Regions from separate parts of the Homo sapiens genome. Here regions 1, 3 and 4 are each linked to region 2. Evidence: promoter capture Hi-C in 16 types of primary human blood cells and fetal thymus (Javierre and others, 2016). All regions are on one chromosome and are shown on one strand. The core of a region is centred on a gene start or on the middle of the fragment in contact, and the rest is flanking DNA. Distances in the headings are between cores, read along the strand shown. Region 1 overlaps TM7SF3 (transmembrane 7 superfamily member 3). Region 2 holds the start of STK38L (serine/threonine kinase 38 like). Region 3 has its middle 22 kb from the start of C12orf71. Region 4 has its middle 21 kb from the start of MED21.

Region 1 (6,205 bases), core at 980-3,479, 250 kb after region 2:
TCCACGATCAGGATGCCAGCACAGTTGAGTTCTGGTGAAGGTTCTCGTCCAGGTTACAGACTGCTGGGTTGTCATTGTGTCCACACATGACAGAAAGAAGGCTAGAGGGCTCTCTGGGATCTCCTTTATGAGGGCAGTAATTCGATTCATTAGGGCTTCACCTTCATGACCTAATTACCTTCCAAAGGTCCCACCTCCTAATATCATCACACTGGGAGTGAGGGTCTCAGCATATTAATTTTGGGGAGACACAAACATTCAGTCCATAACAGTGCATTACTTTTCTTCAGAATACCAATTGTTGCCACTGCAAAAGGTGAACTGTTAAATTGTAATTATTGTTGCAAGTGTTTGAAATTAGGGCTCTTGGTTCCTTTTTATAGATGGGACTTGCACCACAAGAGACTGATGTTTCATTTTGTTGGTTGACTTTAGAGGCGTAGATCCCCCACCATGTGACGCTGGGACAGACCAGGACTCCAGGTGGAGGTTGCAGTATGATGTCTATCAGTATTTTCTGCCTGAGAATGACCTCACTGAGGAGATGTTGCTGAAGCATCTGCAGAGGATGGTCAGTGTGCCCCAGGTGAAGGCCAGTGCTCTCAAGGTAAATCTGAGTCCCATGATTTGTGTGGCTGGATTGTGACACCTTTGTCAGAGTTGAGAAGGGGAGAAGCTACCAGGATCTTATTTCTTTACTCTTTTCTCCTTTTTGGGGGACACTCACTTTATTCTCTTTTGTTATCATCTTGGGAGTCTTTGCTGGTGATATCTCAAAATGATGTTGGCCTTTGAGGAGATGCATGTAAATTATGTTACGTTTTAGTTGCAGCCACATCTGTGACTTGGTAATCTGAAATGTGAATGGAAGGAGGTGGTAATTTTCTGTGTACTCCCACGACTACTGGGTAAACATTTTTGGCAAGTATGAAGATTACATTGTTTTGAGAAAAAAATAATGAGAAACTGCTTAAGGATATACACATTGGCATTCATATTTGAACCCAAACTCAAAGTCTAACTTGGAGTAAAATTCTTCTCTGAGCTTTTGAATCCATGTAAACCCTTGCTCCCCAGGTGTGGACCATGGACCAGTGGCATTGGCATCACTGGGGAGTTTGTGAGAATTGTAATTCTTAAACTCCACCCTGGAACTACTGAATCAGAATTTGCATTTTATATCCCTCAGGTGATTCTGACTGGGTGCAGTGGCTCACGCCTGTAATCCCAGCACTTTGGGAGGCCGAGGCGGGTGGATCACCTGAGGTCAGGAGTTTGAGACCAGCCTGTCCAACATGGTGAAACCGTGTCTCTACTAAAAATACAAAAATTAGCCAGGCATGTTGGTAGATGCCTGTAATACCAGCTACTTGGGAGGCTGAGGCAGGAGAATTGTTTGAACCCAGGAGGTGGAGGTTGCAATGAGCCCAGATGGTGCTGTTGCACTCCAGCCCTCAGGTGATTTTTATGCATATTAAATTTTGAGACTCACTGCAATAGATCATTTTTGTGGAGGGCAGGATTTTATCTTTATGTCTTGAAAAGTGCCTAACAGCAATATAATATATGAGGTCATCCTTCAGTCTAATGGTTGATGGGTGGAGTTTTTCTAGACAGCGTCATTGTGCTTATTCACAAAATAAGAAGCTCTGTTAGTAAAGTTTATTAGTTGCTTTATTAGATATGACATTTTAATACTATTATTATTTTTATGAAGAATATAAGAACTTGTATAATAGGCTTTTTGTAGGTTACTTTTAAACTTTTAGTTAAAAGAATATTTTGTACCAGAATGTGGGGAAACCCTCAAAGACTAATGAGGGTATGTCAAAGAGATTCAGGAGCCTGTTTGAAGGGGCTTGCACTGCCAAATTTGGGGCAGTTCAAGAATCAAGAAAAAGACTGTGGTTGTCAGCCTTGAATAAATACAAATGAAACCTTCCTCAGTTGCCACCACTGGAGGAGACTCTTACAGCAAATTACTCTAAAAATTGATAAAGAAATTTAGCTTGCCTTTTTAAAGGAGGAACTAATTCTTCCCCAGTTGGTGAGAGAAAGCTCTTTGCAGAAGAGTGCTGGCTAATATATGTAGAAGAAATAATAGAATTAGATGATCACCATTTTGTGACCCTCAATGAAATAATTCCAGCAAGGATCAGCAGGTGAAAGGTTTTTGGGGAACAGGATATTTCTAGGGTGTCTAAGTAGCATCCTTAGATTAATTCTCATTGTAAAAGGAGAACCACTTTAACATGGAGTGACCTTATAGTCTCCACCTATTCCAGGTGGGCAAAGCTAGTTTCACTGAAAATGGATCAGCCTGTATTACGTGCTTATGTAGTGCAGTCTGACATTATCACCATCACCTGTGGTATATTCTAGCAAAAAATGTCTAACCTGAATTTAGTCCATTGGATTCCCTATTTACAGGAAATATGGGGGATAAAAGAATAAGTTAGACACAAAATTGTGGAATACTTTATGAGAATACTGACTTCACATCTTCTACAGTCATTGGGTAGCTGGGAGAGAAAGGTGGGACAGACTGCTCTGGATTACTGAGATTGGCCGTAAACACCATGCATGGAACTTGGTTTGATCTTGGGTAAGAAGGAGAAAAGCTAGAAAAGATGTTAGGAGCCAGGAACAGTGGCACACACCTGTAATCCCAGCACTTTGGGAGGCTAAGGAGGGCAGATCACTTGAGCTCAGGAGTTTGAGACCAGCCTGGGCAACGTGGCAAAACCTCACAGCCACTAAAAAAACCAAAAAGTTCCAGGCGTGGTGGTGCGTGCCTGTAGTCCCAGATATTGAGGAGGCTGAGGTGGGAGGATCGCTTGAGCCTGGGAGAAGTTGCAGTAAGCTGAGATCACGCCACTGCACTGTAGCCTGGGCGACAGAGTGAGACCCTGTCTCAAAAAAAAAAAAAAAAAAAAAAGACATTAGGGAAAATCTGGATCATTTATTAGCTAATAAGAAATTATTCATTTTCGTAGGTGAGCTAAGGTATTGTTATATAGGAGAATATTCTTATACAGATGGTCCCTGACTTATGATGGTTTGACTTATGATCTTTTGATTTTAGTTTTGATAATTTCCTGAGCTAGCAATATACAGTATGATACTCTTGCAACGCTGAGCAGTGGCAGTGAGCCATCGCTCCTGCTTAACCACACGGGTAATAGCTAACATTTTACAGTGTACTGTATTCAATAAATTACATAAGCAATTAAACACTTTATTATAAAATAGCATTTGTGGGCCGGACATGGTGGCTCACGCCTGTAATCCCAGCACTTTGGGAGGCCAAGGCGGGAGGATCACAAGGTCAGGAGATCGAGCCCATCCTGGCTAACAGGGTGAAACCCTGTCTCTACTAAAAATACAAAAAATTAGCTGGGCGTAGTGGTGGTGGCGGGCGCCTGTAGTCCCAGCTACTCAGGAGGCTGAGGCAGGAGAATGGCGTGAACCTGGGAGGCAGAGCTTGCAGTGAGCCGAGATGATCGTGCCACTGCACTCCAGCCTGGGCAACAGAGCGACATTCCGTCTCAATAATAATAATAATAATAATAAAAAAATAAAATAGCCTTTGTGTTAGATGATTTTGTTCAACTGAATCTAATGTAAGTGTTCTGAGCACATTTAAGGTAGGCTAGGGTAAAGCCATAATGTTTGGTGGGTGAGGTACATTAAATGCATTTTGACTTTACGATGGGTTTATCCTGATGTAACCCCCTTGTAAGTCTGTACTTAGACTTACATCTGTACTGAGTAACTTGTTACTCAGAGTGTGGTAGGTGTTTGCATAGCATTGGCATCATCTGAGAGCTTTCTAGAAAGGCACAATTGCTAGTACCACGCTGACCTAAGAATCAGATCTACCTTTTAACAAGACTGCCCCCTGCGATTCACAAGCACGTTAAATTTGAGAAACACTGTGGTAGGACATGCACAGTGAAGTGTTTAGAAGTGAAATGTCATGATATCTGTAACTTACTTTCAGCAGGAAAAAAGTAGAGTTGGGGAGAAACTAGTGATAGAGAAGCAAATGTAAAATATTAACAATTGTTGATATTAGGCAGTATATAGTCTATTTATTGTGTTATTCATTCAACTTTTCTGTCTGGTTTAAACTTTTCATTGTAACTTGGGAGTAATATTAACAGTTTGTTGAACTTTACCAGACCTTTGCCCAGGAAGCAAGTTATTGAAGGCTAAGCAGTATTTTTAAACAATGGTAGTCTGATGTAGGAGGGCTCATAATAATTTTCTCCTAAAACCCTAATATTTATTTTTCTCAAATTAGTAGGAACATAGGTATTATGGTTCTATAAAGCATTTGTTTCTTCTATTTTATAGTTTACAATGGAATTTCTGAAGTTAAGAACTACTGGCCGGGCGCGGTGGCTCACGCCTGTAATCCCAGCACTTTGGGAGGCCGAGGCGGGTGGATCATGAGGTCAGGAGATCGAGACCATCCTGGCTAACAAGGTGAAACCCCGTCTCTACTAAAAATACAAAAAATTAGCCGGGCGCGGTGGCGGGCGCCTGTAGTCCCAGCTACTGGGGAGGCTGAGGCAGGAGAATGGCGTGAACCCGGGAAGCGGAGCTTGCAGTGAGCCGAGATTGCGCCACTGCAGTCCGCAGTCCGGCCTGGGCGACAGAGCGAGACTCCGTCTCAAAAAAAAAAAAAAAAAAAAAAGAACTACTACTACATAACAAAACCTCATGTAATATTTTCTTGTTTCAGAGACTGTTAGACAAAAATAAGTGGGTACTGTCTGCGAGATGTTAACAGACTGTCTGCGTTAGTCTGTGGCTAACATTGGACACATCCTCTGTGTTAGGCATTGGGCTGTACACTGAGGAAAGAGCAGTGCACAAGAGAAATACAGTTCCCATCCTTGTTTATAGTCTAGCAGAGGTGAAAAAACTTTTTTCATGGTCGTAACTAGCATTTATACATTGTTTATATCGCATTTTCCTTAAACTATTAAAAAAAACCTTTGGAAGCATTTTGTGTGAGAGCTTGTTTACATTAGCACATACAAACCATGTAAGATGGCCTTTTGACCATATTAAATGGGTTGGTGTATATTTTAAGCAAGAATTATAATTTATGAATATACCATTTAATATTACACGTAGGTGGGATTATCACAGAATAGCTTAAAAAAATCCCCTAAACACTAATCATGTGTTATTTTTGGCTTCAGGTGGTTACCCTAACAGCTAATGATAAGACAAGTGTTTCCTTCTCCTCCCTCCCGGGACAAGGTGTCATATACAATGTCATTGTTTGGGACCCGTTTCTAAATACATCTGCTGCCTACATTCCTGCTCACACATACGCTTGCAGCTTTGAGGCAGGAGAGGGTAGTTGTGCTTCCCTAGGTGAGTATGTGGCTTTAAACTTTTACAAATTCTCCTTTGGCCTTGCAGATAATGCTTTTGTCTAGTTCTCATTCATTCAACACATACCTTTTGAGCCCCTACGTTATTCCACTCTCTGTTCTAGGCACTGGGACATAGCAGTAAACAAAACAGCAAAAATACTTGTTCTGGAGCTTATATTATAGTGAGGGAGATGAGACAGACAAGATAAATTTATAAAATATGTAATACGTGAGAAAATGGTGAGTGCTAAGAAGATAAATAAAGTAGGAAAGGGAGATAACACATGCCAGTAAGAGGAAAATTTGAGATAGATAGCATGGCCAGGGCAGTCCTTGATGCACCACGCACGTACCTGGGTGTGGCATGTACCAGGCAGAGGGAGCAGCCAGGATGAGGGCCTGCACCTGGGAGCCTGTCTGAGGGTGTGAAGAACTGCAGTGATGACAGGGGTTGCAGGAGAACGAGGAGGGCAAAGGAAGTAGAGGTGAGGTGAGAGGTGCAGGGGCAGGCAGCCTGTGTGTGGCCTTGTAGACTGTAGTATGGGATTTTGCTTCTATTCTGAATGAAAGGGAAAGGCATTGGAAGGTTTTGAGCAAATGGTGCCATGATCTAAGATATTTTAATGAGATCACTGGCTGCTTTTTGAGAAAAGACGGAGGCAAGAGCAGAAATGCAGATTGGTTAGGAGGCCACTGAAGTAATCCAGGGGAGAGATAACTAGGTTAGGTAGAATGGGGGCAGTGAAGGTGTTGTGAGGGGTGTGTGTGTGTGTGTGTGTATTTAGCAGTTTATCTTGAAATGGTTTCTC
Region 2 (6,490 bases), core at 2,012-4,511:
GTTATATTTAATCTGCACCAAGAATAACTTCCAAAAATGGATTAAAATAACATGTCAAAAATAACTCATTTACTTGGGTGTTATTTTGGAACTCTTTCTAGAAAACTGACCCCAAAATTTAGATGTCAGAAGAATGTATTTCCCAAGTCAAGTTTTTGAAACTACAGATCTGAGGAAGACCATCATGAACAGGAGAGAAAATATGGATTGCAGTTAAGCATGCCATATGGGTACAAGCCAGAATGCCTGGGTCAGAATCCTGGTCCTACCACTCAATAGCTATCTAACCTTAGTACCACAGTTACTTCATCTGCAAAACGGGAATAATAAAAATACCTACTCCATACAGTTGTTGTGAGGATTAAAGCCAGGCAAGTAAGTAATATATGTAAAGGATTTAGCAGGAAGCAGCATTATATAAAGTATTTACTTATCATCATTATCATATGACTAGATCACTTAAATCATCCACAGAAACGCCTTTTCCTATTTCAGTCTTCCTTAATTGGTCTAGCAGCACTTAATCCCTCCCTCCTTGGCTTCCTCATAAAACACATTTTCTATGGTATTTATTTGGGTAGGTATATTTCTCTCCCACTGGATCACATCTCCTTGAAGACAGCAACCACAGTTCGTCCGAGTGTACAGAGTAGCAACCACAGTTCGTCCGAGTGTACAGAGCAGCAAACACTGTTCACTGTTGCCTTTCATTTCTCTCCCTCTAAAGATTCTGAACAATAATACCCTGTCAATTAGCAAACTTTTACCTGGAGACAGAAGGCTTATGCAACCAGTGCACTTAAGTACTGGTCATACCTTGCTAAAGACTTTCTTAAGACTTAAACAAAAATTTTGGGGGGAAGAAGAGGAGGATATGCTTCATGTTTATAAACTAACCAAAGACAGATTTTTAATTTTTTAAAAAAGTTATGTCTTAAAAGCTTGCTTTCATTATTTCATTCAAAAAGACCATGGTGCTTTTAATATAAAAATACAGAAGCATAATTTCTGCATATGTCAAGTCTAACCTAATCATAACTTGCCAATCTGCTGATTTTAATGTAATCCTAAGGATGCTAGACAACAATATGCTTGCTTGATTCACCTGACACTATTTACATAAAATAAAAGCATTTTAACAATACATCGAGATGCAAATCTTTCTGGCTCTGATTTGTGCCCTTTCTCCCTCTTAACAAAAAGTGCCACACACACACAAAAGAGCCTCCAACTTATCCTGGATCACTGGGGAGGCACTTTCTAAGGTGCGTTATCCAATTTCACTAACACAATGATGCTCTCCTTACTTTAAGAGAACAGAACTTTTCTGAAAGCAAACAGCTGAACTGAGTCCATTGCTTTGTTATCATTTTTTAGGAAGTCCAATTTCTCCTTTGTTCTTACAGTGTCCTACCTTTAGAAATCAAGTTTTCAGCATAAAAACTAACAAGGACATCTATTTGTTGGCACAAATCATCTCAGTCTCCATTCTTTGACTTATTTTAAAACAAACTCAAGAGCAAATGGCTAGAGAAAAACTGCTTCTATTTAATGTGTGTTTTCTAAGTCTAATTTTTTCATTCCTAGTGGCAAGGCCTTTCAAAAGAGTACAAAAACTACACCCAACTTTGCTTCTCATTCTAAACACATCACAACCAAATGGGAAACATTATCAGCCATCTTAACAAGGAGAAAACAAAGCTAAGTGAGGTCAAACCAAAACATTTTTTAATTCATTGTACCTACCTATTTTGAGATCAGGATTTTTCAGATGGAAGTAGTTTGATGAACTTATGCAATAAAATTATGTAATATCATAATTTAACATAATATTTTAGACTAACTTCTCTCTCCTCAAATAGTCACAAGGGTGGCTAATTCACATACAATACCTCTCAGCCACTGGGGAGAGAGTATAATAAACTTAATTGTTTTACATATCCTGAGGCACAGAGAGAAAGGCCAATCAAATTCAAAGAGGTTTACAGTACCTTATATACATATATGATTGAGACAAAGAACTTTCAAGAATCTGTACTGAGGAAGCAAAAATGGGCTTAAGTACAATAGGCCCTGCCTTAAAGTAGAGAGACCGGTCAAACGTAAGCCCCAGCGCCAAAAAAGACAAGGTCTCACTCATCAATCCCCATCTTACAATCAAGAGGCAGAACTTAAATCACTTAAAGCTGTTTTTTCAGATTTGAGCAGTAAAATAAGCTAATAGGCCATTTCCGATTAAGTGGCTTCTCTCAAAACTTATCACAAGTTATGTGAAATGGGTAAAAGTGTTGGTTCTGCATTTTATCAAGTGAGAAACAATAGCATCCTACTTTTGGACAAGCCACTACTTCCAGAGCCACTAGCCCTCCCCCCACCTCCCACTTCTTTTTATATCATTCCTCCAAACTTAGAACCCGAAAAGCTATTCCACAAAACAAAAGCAGCACCAGTAAAAGGGGAGGCCACTGGTTTTGAAAATAAAGTTTGTTCTTTTGCTGTCAACCTGGCAACTTTTTAAAGGTGAAACGTGCCCTACTCAATCGGTTATACTCTTTTCTACTCCCACACCAAATAACCACTCGTTCGACCTCGATACTAAAGGTGAAAAAAGGAGTGGGAGAAATGATTTTGAAAGGAAGGGGCTACGGGTGCAATGGTAAAGACAGATTCTAAGACTGGTTTTGAGCACTCCGTGGCTTCTAGGAGCTGGGAGGCTTTCCTGAGTCTGTCTTGAGAAATGTTTGGCAATCTGACGCATCAGTTTTTAGGAACGGTACACAAACAGCCCCCACAATTGAAGAGCCATGCTTCGGATCCTGGCTCTGGGTGACATCGGCTGGAGGGCACGGGACGGGAGCGCTGGGGCTACCCGGAGAGGATCCGCGACATTTGTTATTGTTTGTGAAGCCCAGGCGGGGACCCGGAGCGGAGTGCTCGGGGGCCGGGGAGTGGAAGGAGAAAGGAGCAGAGGACAAAGATTCCTCCCCGGGTGCGAGGCTCCCTCTCTGGACACATGGGGCCAGTATCACCCCGGGGAATAAGAGGGCCAAGGCCGTCGCCGCAGGTTCCCCGGAGACATTTCCAGCCCCAGAATTAGCCCGGCTTTCCCTGGACACCCAAAGACACCTAAAATCTCCTCCTGCTCCTGCTCGCAGAGTTGGGGCTGGCGCGGCGAGCTCGGGCCCTCAGCCGAGCGCTACATCCGCGAACTCACCTGCCTCCGGTCGCGCCCGCGGCCGGCTCAGCCTCCGCACGGACCGCAGCCGGCCGGGCGCCCGTCAGCTCCCTTCTCCCCGCTCCGCCCTCGCCCCGCCCCCGGGAGGTGGGACCCGCGGCCTCGCCGGAATCTCAGGGCGGCCTCCCTGAACTCTCGCGAGCCTTGCCTCCTCGGCTTCTCGGTGGCTGGGTCGGTCCGACTCGCCCTGACGTCATACGCACCACAGCCGGAAGTAGCCTTCTGTCGTCAACGCCCGTCTTCCCGGCCCCACCCATCTCCGCCTGGTGAAGGCCAGACTGGTTTTGAGGGAGTTGACTGAACTGTCGCCACTTCCCCTCTCACCAGCCTCACCTCACTGCCGTTTTTACGCCAAACCTGTTCAGGCCTCTCTTGAGAGTGGCCTAATGTGTTGCGACATTAGTCACATTCTAAATGTCATCCGAATTTTTCAAACAGTGCAATGCAAAGAATGTTAGAAATGGAAAGAGAGAATTCACGCATTTTTCAGATTGGGAAACAGTTGTCAACAAAGATGGATCAGCTAAGTTGCTCAGTCGGTAGCTGTGGGGACTCGAAGCCACCCAGGTTCCTTGACGCTTCCATTTCACCATGAGGGGACTCCAGAGACTGGAGAGGAACCAGGATTTGTAAATGCCACAAAAAATACATTAAAAACCTGTTTGAGTTTTCTTGGAAAATCTAAAATAACTACAGTACTGGCCTGCTTTATCAGTAGGATCTGAGAATTGTGCAGAAGAGCACTCCCCTATAGGATGACCCAAAAGGGACAACTTTGGGAAGGTTGATGCAATTTGCGTCTGGGGACAAAACTGGCCTTTGGGAAAGCCAAATGAGAGAATGACTCCCAATTATTGTTGGCAAGTTTATCCTCAATATGAGTATTGGAGGTCTTATAAAATATTCTTAGCTTTTAGCTTACTGAGACAACGTATGAAGCTGGTACTGTGCTTGCAAAAACTATCACTTAGAAATGCCACCTGTCATCTTTAGGTTTCCCAAGAGCAGGTGACACGAGCAAAACACCTAGGAAAGAAGCATTACCTCATTTCTCTTTCTTACACTGTGCTTTTTCATACATAGCTTAGTAGTGGGAAAAGCTCTAGTTTGGTAATTAGTGTATTTTTGGGGAGATCAGCTCCACTTATATGGTCATTTTGAAACTCAAATGACAGTTGTCATATACAAGCATAGGAGGTTTAATTGTGATCAGACAAGCTTGACAGGCCTATACACCCTTCTCCCTGTACTGCACGCATACACATACCATTCAAATGCTACGATAAGATTGAGAACAGTGTATGGTTTGTTCCACAGCAAATTTATGTCTTCAAATGTGCCATACTAGAGTAATATGAACTAGTATAGAGTAGCAGTCTAGGTTAATATGGGATAGCCTAAGACTTTGACCTCTAGTTCCTAAATTCTCCTAAATTGAGACCATTGTAAACAAATTTCCCTGGGAAGTTGTTGAAAGTACCTCAACTGAAACAAATTAGAGCTATGAACCAGAATTTTGGTGGTCTATGGACCCCTTTTCAAAACAGTGTTCTTAAATGCATAAACTACCTAGGGTTACAAAGGAAATTGATAATGTTAACATACAGTTACCAAAATACTAAAAAGTGAGTTTGTAATATAATTATGTGGTAAGTAGTAGTAGCATCTAAGATGGCTGCCAATGATCCACGCCTTCTAGTATTCCTGCCTTCTGTAATTCCCTTCTCTAGTAACTTAGTTCTTAAAAAGGAAATATAGCAAAAGTGATTAGGATATCATTTCCGTGATTAGGTTACAAAAATATTCTGGGCTCCATCTTGCTTGTCCTTGCTCTCTCACTTGCTCGCTTTCATGGAAGCCAGCTGCTGTCTTGTGACCTGCCTTACAGAGAAGCCCACATGGCAAGGAACTGAGAGAGATCCAGTCAACAGCCACCAAGGAATTCAGGCCCCCAGTCCAACAACCTGTGATGAACTGAATACTGCCAATAATCATGTAAGTAAGCTTGGAAGTAGATTCTTTCCCAGTTGAGCCTTGAGATGACTGCAGCCCCACCTGACACCTAGACTGCAGCCTTGTAAAACCAGATACTGAGCCAGCAGGCCCAACTAGCCAAGCCCAGATTTCTGGCCCACAGAAACTGTGAGACAATAAATATTTGTGGTTTTAAGCCACTAACTTTTGGGATACTATGTTACACTGCCATAGATAACTAAAATAGTTATATATTTGCCTCTTTATTAATGCATTAAATAATAAGATCAAGACCTACAGTAATTTTGTAGTAATGATACACAGAAACAATATTTTGAGATATCTACAACAACTTTAATGGGGTAGAAAATATGTGTGATTCCTATTGAGGAAAAGTCACAGGTATTGCTAATATTCCTGTGGTTTGCTGCCTACATTCATGATGGAAGAAATGCTAATTTTCAGTTTGAGTTTAGTGAAAAAATTACATAATATGTAATATATATAACTATATAACTATACATAGTCATATATGTAATATATAACTATATGACTATACATAGTCATATATGTAATATATATAACTATATGACTATACATAGTCATATATGTAATATATATAACTATACATAGTCATATATGTAATATATATAACTATACAGAGTCATATATGTAATATATATAACTATACAGAGTCATATATGTAATATATATAACTATACAGAGTCATATATGTAATATATATAACTATACAGAGTCATATATGTAATATATAACTATACAGAGTCATATATGTAATATATATAACTATACAGAGTCATATATGTAATATATATAACTATACAGAGTCATATATGTAATATATATAACTATACAGAGTCATATATGTAATATATATAACTATACAGAGTCATATATGTAATATATATAACTATACAGAGTCATATATGTAATATATATAACTATACAGAGTCATATATGTAATATATATAACTATACAGAGTCATATATGTAATATATAACTATACAGAGTCATATATGTAATATATATAACTATACAGAGTCATATATGTAATATATATAACTATACAGAGTCATATATGTAATATATATAACTATACAGAGTCATATATGTAATATATATAACTATACAGAGTCATATATGTAATATATATAACTATACAGAGTCATATATGTAATATATATAACTATACAGAGTCATATATGTAATATATATAACTATACAGAGTCATATATGTAATATATATAACTATACAGAGT
Region 3 (6,714 bases), core at 2,276-4,775, 140 kb after region 2:
ACAAGATTAGCCATAAGTTGATAATTGTTGAAAATGGGTGATGGTATTTGAGGGTACACTATACTATCTATCTATACATATATTTTTTGAAACAGAGTCTCATTCTATCGCCCAGGCTGTAGTGCAGTGGTGCAAACATGGCTCACTGCAGCCTTAACTTCTCCAGGCTCAAGCAATACCCCCATCTCAGCCTCCCAAGTAGCTGGGGCTACCACACCTGGCTAATTTTTGTATTTTTTGTAGAGACAGGGTTTCGCCATGTTGCCCAGGCTGGTCTTGAACTCTTGGGTTCAAGCGATACGCTCACCTCAGCCTCCCAAGTACTGGGAATACAAGTGTGAGCCACTGCACCCAGCTGGGTATTCTATCTATGTTTTTATATATTTGAAGCTTTCCATAATAAAACATTTCCATTTTTATCCATATATTTAAACCATAAAATTTTCAAACACCTTCAACCATGATATATTGTCTTAGATATTTTATTTCTCTACCATAACCTCAAGCATACTAAGGGCTCACCAAATATTTATAAACCAAATAACACAATACTTGTTATTTTAACCACCCTCACAAACACAAACACACACATGCACACGCACATTCAGAAAATGAAACACCTGCTCACAGAGGATTATAAGGCAGAGTACAAAAGAGGGCGTATTAATGACAATACATTAGTAAAAGTTACTTCTCTTGTTCACTACAATGAAATGCCACAAAATACAAAAAAGCAAAGCTAGTAAGTAATCAAATAAATGAAGCAGCAAGGGAAAATAGGATGAGGTAAAAGGAAATGAGCCCTCTGGCTCTCTGCTATTAATGCTTAGGAATAACCAGAAGAGAGTTGATGAAAAGGTTTATACAATAAGCCAAGATCTTTTACTTCTCAAATAAAGGATGCTGCTGCTATTGAAAAACTGATGTGTATTAAATGTCAGTAGATTTGAAGATCTTGTGATAAGTTGAAAGAAAGCCCCATTTCTCGATATCTACTCTTACTAGCTATTGTTATGACTACATGGAGAAGTTAGGAATTTGTTCAAGGTCACTGAAGAAGTGAGATTTGAGTCCAAAACCCATGTTGTTCCCATGTATTCCTCTCACTCATTCAGTAGGTATTTAACAAACAACTATTAGGCCTTGACTGGGATCACCAACCTTGACCTCCCTCACATGTTTCTAATCCAAACTATAAACTATGTACAGGACTGCCAGCCTCCCACCATACTGCAAAGACATGCCCTGCTTGGAAGACATTTCTAACCTCTCACCTCTGTGCCATGACACGCACTGATCCCCCTACTTCTTGGGCCCTCTTCTATGTCCTGGGACACATGTTTTCAAGGTGGGTCAGGCATTCTTTCCTCCAAGGCCAGCCCGACTGCCACCACCATGACAGCCCTGATTTTACAGTGATTGTCTCCTGGACAAAGCTGTGCACTCCTTGAAAACAGACTGTGTTTCTGCTATCTGTTCCCCATAATCTAGTGTGGTAGACACCAAATGCTTGCTGTGTGCAGCTATGACTCAGTGGCCCTGCAAACACATACACGCTCTGATGTCTTAAGTACTCCAGATCCTATATGCGTAATTCAGAAAACTACATCCTGACCTTTACTTGTTTTTGTTTGATTTTTTTTTTTTTTTGAGACAGGGTCTTGGCTCTGTCACACAGGATGGAGTGCAGTGGCATGATCGCGGCTCACTGCAGCCTTGACCTCCTGGGCTCAAGTGATCCTCCCACCTCAGCCTCCCCAGTAGCTAGGACTACAAGGTGGGCACCACCATGCTCAGCTGATTTTTTATTTTTAGTAGAGGGCAGGTCTCACTACGTAGCCCAGGCTGGTCTAAAACTCTGAGCTGAAGCAATCCTTCCGCCTTGGCTTCCCAAAGTGCTGGGGTTACAGGTGGGAGACACTGCACCCAGCCATGACCTTAACTTTTAAGATACATTTAGATAAACGTGATTATTGCTATCAGCCTTGCTATGCACAATCTTAAAAAGTGAAATTTCATGCTCTTCGAGATGTAGGTGAATCAAATTCATTGTACTATTTTAGAATGACATTATTCCTAAGAGTTTGCAAACTTAGTCCCCAGTATTATGGAGGAGTATCGGTGGGTCTGTTTCAACTTGTTATTGCTCTAACCACTCGAACTCTAACCTCATTCTTCCCTTCTTTTTAGCTCTTAAAAACCTGGAGACTCATCTATCTCTATTTTCCTTCACAGGCCTACCAACCTAATGTATGCAGGCTACATGGACTGCTTCCTAGATGTAAACAGTTCTGGGATATGTATACCTATAGGAAGACAGGAGTGAGCAACAGCTACTCATAGTTCTGAAGAAGAAAAGAATAACAAATTCCTATACACAAGCACCTTCTAAAGGAATGTTTTATAAATCGTGGGTCACAACTGCTAAAATTGGAACATACTGAAATAGAATTAATAGATTGAAATCAGCATTTCTTTGTATTAAATAGACAACAAAAGAGTAGTTCATCAGAAGTAAAGGTTAAGCATTATCGTGTGAAAATTCTGATTTGATTATTCAGACACACACATACACACACACGTACCTGCAACAAATATTGATTGAGGGCCTCCTATGTGCCAGGTATTAGAGGCAGAACAGTGAAAAAGACCAAGAAAAGCGAAGCTCTGCCTTTAGGTGGCTGACATTCCAGTGGTTTCAGAGTATGTGTGTGTGTGTGTCTGCACAGGCATGTACACACTCATGTGTTTTACAACCTAAGAATGCATACTTTATACTGGGATAAAAACGTTTGAAAACCACTGCTCTGAAGTGGTGTTGCTTAGAATGTGGTCTGTGGACTGGAGCTGGTGCACGAACTGTTGCTGGTCTACTATAAGTACAGAAATTGAGAATAACCACTTTAACAACTGCATAGCAACTTGACCTTGCTGTGATATCCAATTATGTGATAGTTCTGCTGGCAACTCAATTTTCTTTTTAAATTGAATTTTAGAAAACAGATTAATTCATGATGGAAAACAAAATGAGGCACATTGGCCAGGTGTCTTGGGAGTAGGTTACATCACACTCTGATTGGAAACCGCAGCCATGGACCACAGCTGTAAAAAGGTGCAACACAGGGAGCAAGAAAACCCCAACAAATGGGGAGTATGGTCCAGGTTTGTTCTTTCCACACATATAAAATGATGAAGACAATTAAACGGCAAGTGGAAAACTGTTAGCACCGACAATAAGGATGGGCTGCTAAGTTCAGAAGAGGTGACACAAAAACCATTTCTGGTTGCATAAAATTTACATCAGTTGCAGTCACATAGTTGGACTGCTTATTTGCCTAATTATGATGCATCATCTGACCTGCTTTAATTACACCAATAAAAGCTATATAATTTGTGTTAAAGTTTCAGTTTGTCACATGGTCAAAACTCACTGTATTAAAAAGCTGGAAGAAACTTGCTAGCATATAAAATTGATTGGGAAGACTGGTAAAAACTGTGGGCTAGGAAACAGTTTTGTGGAGGAATAAGTTTTCATAAATAATCTTATAAACTCAACAGTTTGTCTTGTAGGTAATTTCTGTTGGTTTCTATTCCAACTGGGTGTCAGTTACACTCTTGGCCATACAGTAAGAGGAATGCCAACACTGCTTGTTCCTTTATAGCACACGTGCTCCTGGCCAGAATCACCAGTTTTCGGCTGTTGGAGAAGAGAAATGAAAACCAGAGCCCTGAAACTGTACAGCTGGAAAGTTCAAAATATATTCTTAACATTGTTATTTCCTAATAAAATATTAAGAGACATATGGAAAATTTGTATACTGAGCCAAATACTAAGGGGTAATGTAATGCTTTTCAAATTATTCATATTTCAGTTCTGAGTGAATAGCACTAATTGCTGGCTGAAGGGAGGAGTAATGAGGGGGAAAGTAAGGCCAAAAATTATTCCCCAACCCAGGAGTTGGCAAACTATGACCTATGGTCAAATCTAGCCCACTGCCTGTTTTTATAAAGTTTCTTTGGAACACAGTCACATTCATTCGTTTACATATCATCTATGGTGGCTTTCATGCCACAACAGCAAAGTTGAGTAGTTGTAACTCACGAAGCCTAAAATATTTACTATCTGGCTCTTTGCAGAAAATGTTTCCAGCCCCTTCCCTAACCTACCTTATCCTACAGCCTCCTGAAAGTGCACAGACTCTTCTCTCATTCACCCACTGATTACACAATATTTATTGAGTACCTATTGTATATCAGGCACTATTCTAAGTGGTGAAGCTGGCAACTCAATTTTCTTTTTAAATTGAATTTAAAAAGTAATGAAGAAAAAGCAAAGAAAGAAAATAGAAAAGGAAAAAAAGTAAAAAGTTGTTGCTCTGATGGCACATACATTCTAATGGCAAGAAACCACAAAAAATAGTTTAAATACATAGCAGATGAGAGGGTGATTGATAAGTGCTATGGGAAAAATAATGAAGCAAGCAAGAGGAATAACATTAACATTAGCTTACTATGTACCGGGCACTGTTTTTTAGTGCTTTTCATATATCAATTCAATTAATCTTTACAATAACCCTAATGACACGATACTTATCCCCACTTTATTAGTGATCAAACTGAGGCACCAAGTCACACAGCTAGAAAAATGATGTGAAGTCAGACAGTCTGGCAGCAGAGCATGTCCGCTTAATTATATACTGTGCCAGCTCTTCGTGCAGAAAGGGAATGGCAGGGACTTAGAAGTTTTGATCTGATAATCAGGGAGGGCCCCATTGGTAAAGTGACATTGATTAAAACCTTGAAGAAGGTGAGGGGAGAAAGTCACAGGAATATCTGGGAAGAGATTCCAGGGAGAAACAACAGTAAGTGCAAAGGCCCCGAGGAGGGGGAGCTTCATGTAGTTGATGTTTGAGGTCAGTGGGCTGGAAGGTGGTGAGCCGGGGGGTTAGTAGGGAATGTGGTCCCAGAGGCACAGAAGGTGTGGTGGGAGTGGTGCGGTAGTGGGATCTGGGGCCTCACAAGCCATGGCAGCCAGGCTTTGACTTCAATTGAGCATGGAGATGGAAGGCCACTGGAGGGTTCTGAGCCAAGGAATGACATGATCTGATTTCTGTTTTATGAAGAATCATTCCTGGCCGGGTGCAGTGGCTCACGCCTGTAATCCCAGCACTTTGGGAGGCCGAGGCAAGCGGATCACGAGGTCGGGAGATGGAAACCATCCTGGCTAACACAGTGAAATCCCATCTCTACTAAAAATACAAAAAAAATTAGCCGGCGTGGTGGCAGGCGCCTGTAGTCCCAGCTACTCGGGAGGCTGAGGCAGGAGAATGGTGTGAACCCGGGAGGCAGAGCTTGCAGTGGGCCGAGATCGCGCCACTGCACTCCAGCCTGGGCGACAGAGCGAGACTCCATCTCAAAAAAAAGAAAAAAAAAAAAGAAGAAGAATCATTTCTAAGAACACACTGCAGGTGTGGCAAAGATAAAAACAAGAACAGTCAAAAAATGACTACAACAATTCAGATGAGAGGTTCTGTTGGTGGCTCGGGTCAGGGTGTGAGCAGTAGAGATGGTGATTGGACACTAGCTATGTACGTATGTGTGAATACACATATAGTAAATATGTATATATACATACATAAAATGCATATTGCTATATATATATTCTGAATATAAAATGTATATTACCATACATATTAGGATGCATTACACATATGAATTAAGTTATAATTTAGAGAGTAAAATGCACAGCTCTTTGCTGCACAGTTTGATGCATTCTGACAAATGAACATACCCCTAACAAGATAGCAACGTTTCTATTGCCTTGTGTATATTTTTGTTATAAACGCTAACAGAACTTGATAGAGCATTTGGGAGAAAAGATGAACTCAAGACTATGGCCTAAGCCATAGGAGGATGGAGTGGCCATTTACTGAGGCAAGTAACTGCCCACTCTCAACTTCTGAGTATGACAGCATTTCCTTCATCCACCAAAGGAAGGAAACAGGAGGAACTATAAAAGTATCATCTAGGTGAGTCATTACCCTGCCATCCTTTACACTGAAATTTGATGAAATACAGCCAGCCCTCCATATCCATAGGTGCCCCATCAGTGGATTCAAACAACCATGAATAGAAAATATTTGAAAAAAAATTGCGTCTGTGACTAAACAGGTACAGACTTTTTCTTGTCATTATTCCCTAAACAATACGACAAAGATTTACATAGCATTTATATTGTATTAGGTGTTATAAGTAATCTAGTGAGGATATAAAGTATACAGGAGGAGATTCCAAGGTTTTAGGCAAATGCAATGCCATTTTATATCAGGGAATTGAGCATCTCTGGATTTTGGTATCTGTGGGAGGTCCTGGAACCAACCCCCCATGAATACCCAGTGACAACTGTGCCTGGATCTTATATATAAAAACTGAATGTCATGGCAGAATACTCAAGGAAGATTACCACATCATCAAGTACTCCTATAGCACTTGTTGTCTCTCCCCACACCCATTCTCTCTCAGCCTCTGTTACCAAGTACCATATGGAACCACGGGTTATCTCTAATAGATGTTATATTTGGCTAAGGAAAAAGTATGTCTCTGGCAAGCAGTCTTGCCTAACCAGGTCCTTGGAGTGTTGCCTGTACTAAATCAAGCTTTTTAAGGACTAAGGACCCATTCTTAAAATTTCTATACCAGATCTATGGCAATGAA
Region 4 (6,604 bases), core at 491-2,990, 200 kb after region 2:
AAACTAACCTATCAGAAAGCAAATCAGGAGTTACCTGGGGATAGAAGGAAGGATAAAACTAAAAGGAGCAGGAGGAAACTTTTGGGGTTGATGAAATGTTTGTTGTCTTGATTTTGATAATGGTTTCATAGATACATGTCAAAACTTACCAAATGTGGAAGGCTGAGGTTGCAGTGAGCTATGACTGTGCCATTGCACTCCAGCCTGTGTGGCAAAGCGAGACCCTGTCTCAAAAACAAAAACAAACAAAAACTTAGCAAATTGTGCACTGCACACACATACATACAAACACATATGTAGTTTATTGTCATCAATTAAACTTCAATAAATCTGTAAACAAAAAAAGTGGAATATGATCATTGCTAAATGCTATCAATGAATACTTTGGGGGGGAAATGAAAGGCTAAGGGTATTAATCATCGACTGAAGGCAAAGTGTGAAAGCTAGAAGGCCTCTTTGGCAGCAGATGCTCATCTCTTGTAGTCTGGAGGCAGAAAAAACTGAGGATCAGATTCAGCCTTTAATTCCAAGAGTAGTGAACAAGCTCTAGAAATATATGATTCTCAACTCAGGCAAGTTGGCTTCATCAAGGTCAGGGAGGGTATTGATGGGAAGGACTGTGATCTTAAGACTTGGAATGGGTCCTCTTGGTTAATATGCTGAAAATCTTGAATCGCACTTCCCCTGATTCCTCCGGGCTGGCACAAGCAGCCTTCTCCTCTCCCTCTCTTAAAGGTTAGCTCTACCCATTTCCTGGAAGATGATGCCAAGTCCTCTACTTTGCAAGATAAATGCCACCCCCCACCCACCCACCTCTGCCCAGGATACACACCTGATATACTTTGGATGTGTGTCCCCACCCAAATCTCATATAAAAAATCCCCAATGTTGGAGGTAGGCCATGGTCAGAGGTGATTGGATCATGGTGGCAGATTTCTCATGAATGGCTTAGCACCATCGTCTTGGTACTGTCATCACAACAGTGAGTGAGCTCTTGTAAGATCTGGTCATTTAAAAGCATCTCCCCCTCATTTTCTTGCTCCTGCTCTGGCCATGTGATATGCCTGCTCCCCCTTCACCTTCTGCCATGGTTGTAAGTTTCCTGAGGCCTCCCCAGAAGCCAAGCACTTGTTAGCACTGTGCTTCCTGTACAGCCTGCAGAAACGTGAGCCAATTAAACCTCTTTTATCAATTACCTAATCGCAGGTATTTCTTTATAGCAATGTGAGAACAGAGTAATGCAACCCCCACCTCACATTCTGGCTACCCAATAAAAAATTAGGATCAATCATGATATAACACAGCTTGGGGGTGCTGGGTCTGTTATGGAGGAAAAGGCGCTGCAGGTCCTAGTTAAGATGTACTGGCAAGAGCTGAGAAAATACACATGAGACTGGAACATGAAAATGCAGTCAAGGAGAATAATGTTGGATAAGGGAGAGTATATCGACATAAGGATGGATCATTCTCCTGTCATATTACATTCAACATCTTGGGTAACAACTGGTTCATAAAACTTCAAAAAATGTAACAATCTTGTGAGAGTTGATGAGAATAAATCCATCTTGTGAGAGCTGGTTCTAGACACCAGTGGCTAAGTCTGATGGTTGATGTTGGTACCAAACTACGCTACATGATGGCAATGGGAATAACAGGATCCCCAAACAAAAGGTGCCTGGTGGCAAATCTAAACCATCAGAACCAAAATAGGCTTAATTACTGTAATAACAGCAAAGTCTGAGTAGCAAGTAATGGAGTTTCCGACCCTCGGAGAGCTATGAAGATTAAGAGAACATGAGTCCCTAAGGGCAAGAGAGACAGGCAGCATTGCAATCAATGGAATCAATTAAATGGGATGCTATTCAAAAATAAAAAGATCGATGCACTAACAATCTGTGTAAATCTCAAAATCATTGTACTTAATGAAAGAAGCCAGACACAAAGAGTACATGCCATATGATACACAACAAAGATAGATGACTAAAATCCTGAGAGCACTTCCCAACAAAAAGTCATGATGTCTTCCCTGTTTCAGAACTTGAGACCTTTTTCAGATTCAGAACCCAATGACTGAACAACAATGAGGATCTTGCGTGAGAAAAACCCTATAATGCAAGTGTTTACAATGATTCTCTCATACCTATCCCAAAGAGACCTGTGGCCATTTACTCAGGTTACTGTATACAAGGGAAAGAGACAAGCCAAGGCATTTTGAGGAGTTTGTTGGTGGCAGAGTCTGTTTTGACATTAATACCTAAGAATTAATGCAGAATTAATTCAAAGGGGCATTATCATGGCCACCTTGTTGGGGAAAAGGGTTATGGTTGCCAGATGATACATGGGGTCCTTGCAAAGATCCCACTCACAGTAGGTTCACTGGTTTCATGACCCATCAGTGATTATTTCCCTGGTCACTGACTTTGTAGTTAGCACAACCCCCACACTGGTTTCTTAACCAATGGTGTAAGAGCTACGGAAGTGGGGAAAGCCAAGTGGAGACTCTGAAACTGTCCCTCTCATCCTGTCTCAGCCAATATAGTAAATTTTAAAAGAATACGGCATTGACAATATTGTACATAAAAGACAAATATTATAAATAATTGTAAAAATGTAAAAAAATTATATTGTAAATTAAAAACAATATTGCCTGGGACTATGGTAGACGTTAAAGTCATCCTTAAAGACCCAAAAGTTGCAGGCACTGTGATCCCCATCAAGTGCCTACTTAATTCACCGGTCTGACCCTATAAAAACCAGATATGTCTTAAAGGATGATACTAGACTCCTGCTCATCTATAAACTGATTTACATTCCATAAAAATACCATGAGGTCTTTTTTTGATTGGTAGGCTATTAATTATTGCCTCAATTTCAGAGCCTGTTATTGGTCTATTCAGGGATTCAACTTCTTCCTGATTTAGTCTTGGGAGGGTGTATGTGTGCAGGAATTTATCCATTTCTTCTAGATTTTCTAGTTTATTTGCACAGAGGTATTTACAGTATTCTCTGATGGTAGTTTGTATTTCTGTGGGATCGGTGGTGATATCCCCTTTATCATTTTTTATTGCATCTGTTTGATTCTTCTCTCTTTTCTTCTTTATTAGACTTGCTAGTGGTCTATCAATTTTGTTGATCTTTTCAAAAAACCAGCTCCTGGATTCATTGATTTTTTGAAGGGTTTTTTGTGTTTCTATTTCCTTCAGTTCTGCTCTGATCTTAGTTATTTCTTGCCTTCTGCTAGCTTTTGAATGTGTTTGCTCTTGCTTCTCTAGTTCTTTTAATTGTGATGTTAGGGTGTCAATTTTAGATCTTTCCTGCTTTCTCTTGTGGGCATTTAGTGCTATAAATTTCCCTCTACACACTGCTTGAAATGTGTCCCAGAGATTCTGGTACGTTGTGTCTTTGTTCTCATTGGTTTCAAAAAACACCTTTATTTCTGCCTTCATTTCGTTATGTACCCAGTAGTCATTCAGGAGCAGGTTGTTCAGTTTCCATGTAGTTGAGTGGTTTTGAGTGAGTTTCTTAATCCTGAGTTCTAATTTGATTGCACTGTGGTCTGAGAGACAGTTTGTTATTTCTGTTCTTCTGCATTTGCTGAGGAGTGCTTTACTTCCAACTATGTGCTCAATTTTGGAATAAGTGCAATGTGGTGCTGAGAAGAATGTATATTCTGTTGATTTGTGGTGGAGAGTTCTGTAGATGTCTATTAGGTCCCCTTGGTGCAGAGGTGAAGTCCTGGATATCCTTGTTAACCTTCTGTCTCCTTGATCTGTCTAATGTTGACAGTGGGGTGTTAAAGTCTCCCATTATTATTGTGTGGGAGTCTAAGTCTCTTTGTAAGTCTCCAAGGACTTGCTTTATGAATCTGGGTGCTCCTGTATTGGGTGCATATATATTTAGGATAGTTAGCTCTTCTTGTTGAATTGATCCATTTACCATTATATAATGGCCTTGTCTCTTTTCATCTTTGTTGGTTTATATTCTGTTTTATCAGAGATAGGATTGCAACCCCTACCTTTTTTTGTTTTCCATTTGCTTGGTAGATCTTCCTCCCTCCCTTTATTTTGAGCCTATGTGTGCCTCTGCACATGAGATGGGTCTCCTGAATACAGCACACTGATGGGTCTTGACTCTTTATCCAATTTGCCAGTCTGTGTCTTTTAATTGGAGCATTTAGCCCATTTACATTTAAGGTTAATACTGTTATGTGGGAATTTGATCCTGTCATTATGATGTTAGCTGGTTACTTTGCTCGTTAGTTAATGCAGTTTCTTTCTAGCATTGATGGTCTTTACATTTTGGCATGTTTTTGCAGTGGCTGGTACTGGTTGTTCCTTTCTATGTTTAGTGCTTCCTTCAGGAGCTCTTGTAGGGCAGGCCTGGTGGTGACAAAGTCTCTCAGATTTGCTTGTCAGTAAAGGATTTTATTTTTCCTTCACTTATGAAGCTTAGTTTGGCTGGATGTAAAATTCTGGGTTGAAAATTCTTTTGTTTAAGAATGTTGAATATTGGCCCCCACTCTCTTCTGGCTTGTAGAGTTTCTGCCGAGAGATCTGCTGTTAGTTTGACGGGCTTCCCTTTGTGGGTAACCCGACCTTTCTCTCTGGCTGCCCTTAACATTTTTTCCTTCATTTCAACTTTGGTGAATCTCACAATTATGTGTCTTGGAGTTGCTCTTCTTGAGGAGTATTTTTGTGGTGTTCTCTGTATTTCCTGAATTTGAATGTTGGCCTGCCTTGCTAGGTTGGGGAAATTCTCTTGGATAATATCCTGCAGAGTGTTTTCCAACTTGGTTCCATTCCTCCCATCACTTTCAGGTACACTAATCAGACATAGATTTGGTCTTTTCACATACTCCCATATTTCTTGGAGGCTTTATTCATTTCTTTTTACTCTTTTTTCTCTAAACTTCTCTTCTCACTTCATTTCATTCGTTTGATCTTCAATCACTGATACCCTTTCTTCCAGTTGATCAAATCGGCTACTGAAGCTTGTGCATTTGTCACGTAGTTCTCGTGCCATCATTTTCAGCTCCATCAGATCATTTAAGGACTTCTCTACACTGGTTATTCCAGTTAGCCATTCATCTAATCTTTTTTCAAGGTTTTTAGCTTCTTTCTGATGGGTTCGAACTTCCTCTTTTAGCTCGGAGAAGTTTATCTCACACCCGTTAGAATGGCAATCATTAAAAAGTCAGGAAACAACAGGTGCTGGAGAGGAAGTGGAGAAACAGGAATACTTTTACACTGTTGGTGGGACTGTAAACTAGTTCAACCATTGTGGAAGACAGTGTGGTGATTCCTCAGGGATCTAGAACTAGAAATACCATTTGACCCAGCCATTCCATTACTGGGTATATACCCAAAGGATTATAAATCATGCTGCTATAAAGACACATGCACACGTATGTTTATTGCGGCACTATTCACAATAGCAAAGACTTGGAACCAACCCAAATGTCCATCAGTGATAGACTGGATTAAGAAAATGTGGCACATATACACCATGGAATACTATGCAGCCATAAAAAAGGATGAGTTCATGTCCTTTGTAGGGACATGGATGAAGCTGGAAACCAACATTCTGAGCAAATTATCGCAAGGACAGAAAACCAAACACTGCATGTTCTCACTCATAGGTGGGAATTGAACAAGGAGAACACTTGGACACAGGAAGGGAAACATCACACACTGGGGCCTGTCGTGGGGTGGGGGGATGGGGGAGGGATAGCATTAAGAGATATACCTAATGTAAATGACGAGTTAATGGGTGCAGAACACCAACATGGCATATGTATACATATGTAACAAACCTGCACGTTGTGCACATGTACCCTAGAACTTAAAGTATAATTAAAAAAAAGAAGAAAAAAAATACCATGAGGTAATTACTAATATTATCCTCATTTTACAGTTGCACTGAAACATAGGTAACTTGCCCAAAGTCACACAATTCAGTGGCAATGCCGGGGCCAGGAGGCACAAAAGCCTATATTATTAATCACACTTTCATATTGCGTTTCCATATAGGACTATCCTTCGGCTATGAAGTGGCAGTTTCTGATGTGTGACCTGTCAACATACACAACACATGCACATGCACATAGAAGATAATTTATCATCCAGAGAAAGTGCTCACATAACTTTCTTTGTGGTTGATGCCAGTGCTTCACTTCTTTACGGTGGGCCTAAATGGACACATACCACGAAGTTGTGTCCATAATCTTTTGTTTTCAGACGAAATAAACATTTGGTCATCATATTCATGTTACTGGCTCCAGGAAGATACTAGCTCAAACTAGAATCATAACACCAGCTTTGACTGGATTCCAGGGTAATCTTAACTTGTGGCCACTGCTATCAAGCTAGTTAATCCCCAGTAGTCTTTTGAGTCACGAAACATCCTTTCCAACCATTTCCTCCAACCACTTCCTGTATAAAATCAAAGTTCACGCCTGTAATCCCAGCACTTTGGGAAGCTGAGGTGGGCAGATCACAAGGTCAGGAGATCAAGGCCATCCTGGCTAACACGGTGAAACCCCGTCTCTACTAAAAACACAAAAAATTAGTCGTTCATGGTGGCACGTGCCTGTAGTCCCAGCTAC

What was found. Contacts are between HindIII fragments. The CHiCAGO score rates a contact against its expected background, and 5 or more counts as called.
Region 1: a fragment that was not itself captured here is called in contact with the fragment with the promoter of STK38L in region 2 in 2 of 17 cell types (neutrophils and monocytes); the score reaches 7.4 in neutrophils.
Region 3: a contact is called between a fragment that was not itself captured here and the fragment with the promoter of STK38L in region 2, in 1 of 17 cell types (neutrophils). The highest score is 5.5, in neutrophils.
Region 4: a contact is called between a fragment that was not itself captured here and the fragment with the promoter of STK38L in region 2, in 3 of 17 cell types (M2 macrophages, M0 macrophages and M1 macrophages). The highest score is 9.4, in M2 macrophages.

Annotation. Positions count from the first base shown.
Region 1 is chr12:26,989,639-26,995,843 of GRCh38, reverse strand. It overlaps TM7SF3 (transmembrane 7 superfamily member 3), which reads left to right. Exons shown (of 12, transcript NM_016551.3): 5 at 436-607; 6 at 5,217-5,394. Among named protein-coding and RNA genes, the nearest start is that of TM7SF3, 22 kb to the left of the region's middle. The HindIII fragment of the contact is 8,079 bases long and covers 1-6,205 here.
Region 2 is chr12:27,241,057-27,247,546 of GRCh38, reverse strand. It overlaps STK38L (serine/threonine kinase 38 like), which reads right to left and starts at 3,261. Exons shown (of 14, transcript NM_015000.4): 1 at 3,215-3,261. RefSeq lists enhancers at 1,853-1,902, 4,491-4,550 and a silencer at 3,193-3,432. The HindIII fragment of the contact is 3,512 bases long and covers 944-4,455 here.
Region 3 is chr12:27,100,780-27,107,493 of GRCh38, reverse strand. It overlaps the pseudogene LOC124902904. Among named protein-coding and RNA genes, the nearest start is that of C12orf71, 22 kb to the right of the region's middle. RefSeq lists an enhancer at 3,310-3,479. The HindIII fragment of the contact is 6,266 bases long and covers 393-6,658 here.
Region 4 is chr12:27,039,778-27,046,381 of GRCh38, reverse strand. No RefSeq gene overlaps it. Among named protein-coding and RNA genes, the nearest start is that of MED21, 21 kb to the right of the region's middle. The HindIII fragment of the contact is 5,419 bases long and covers 1-4,449 here.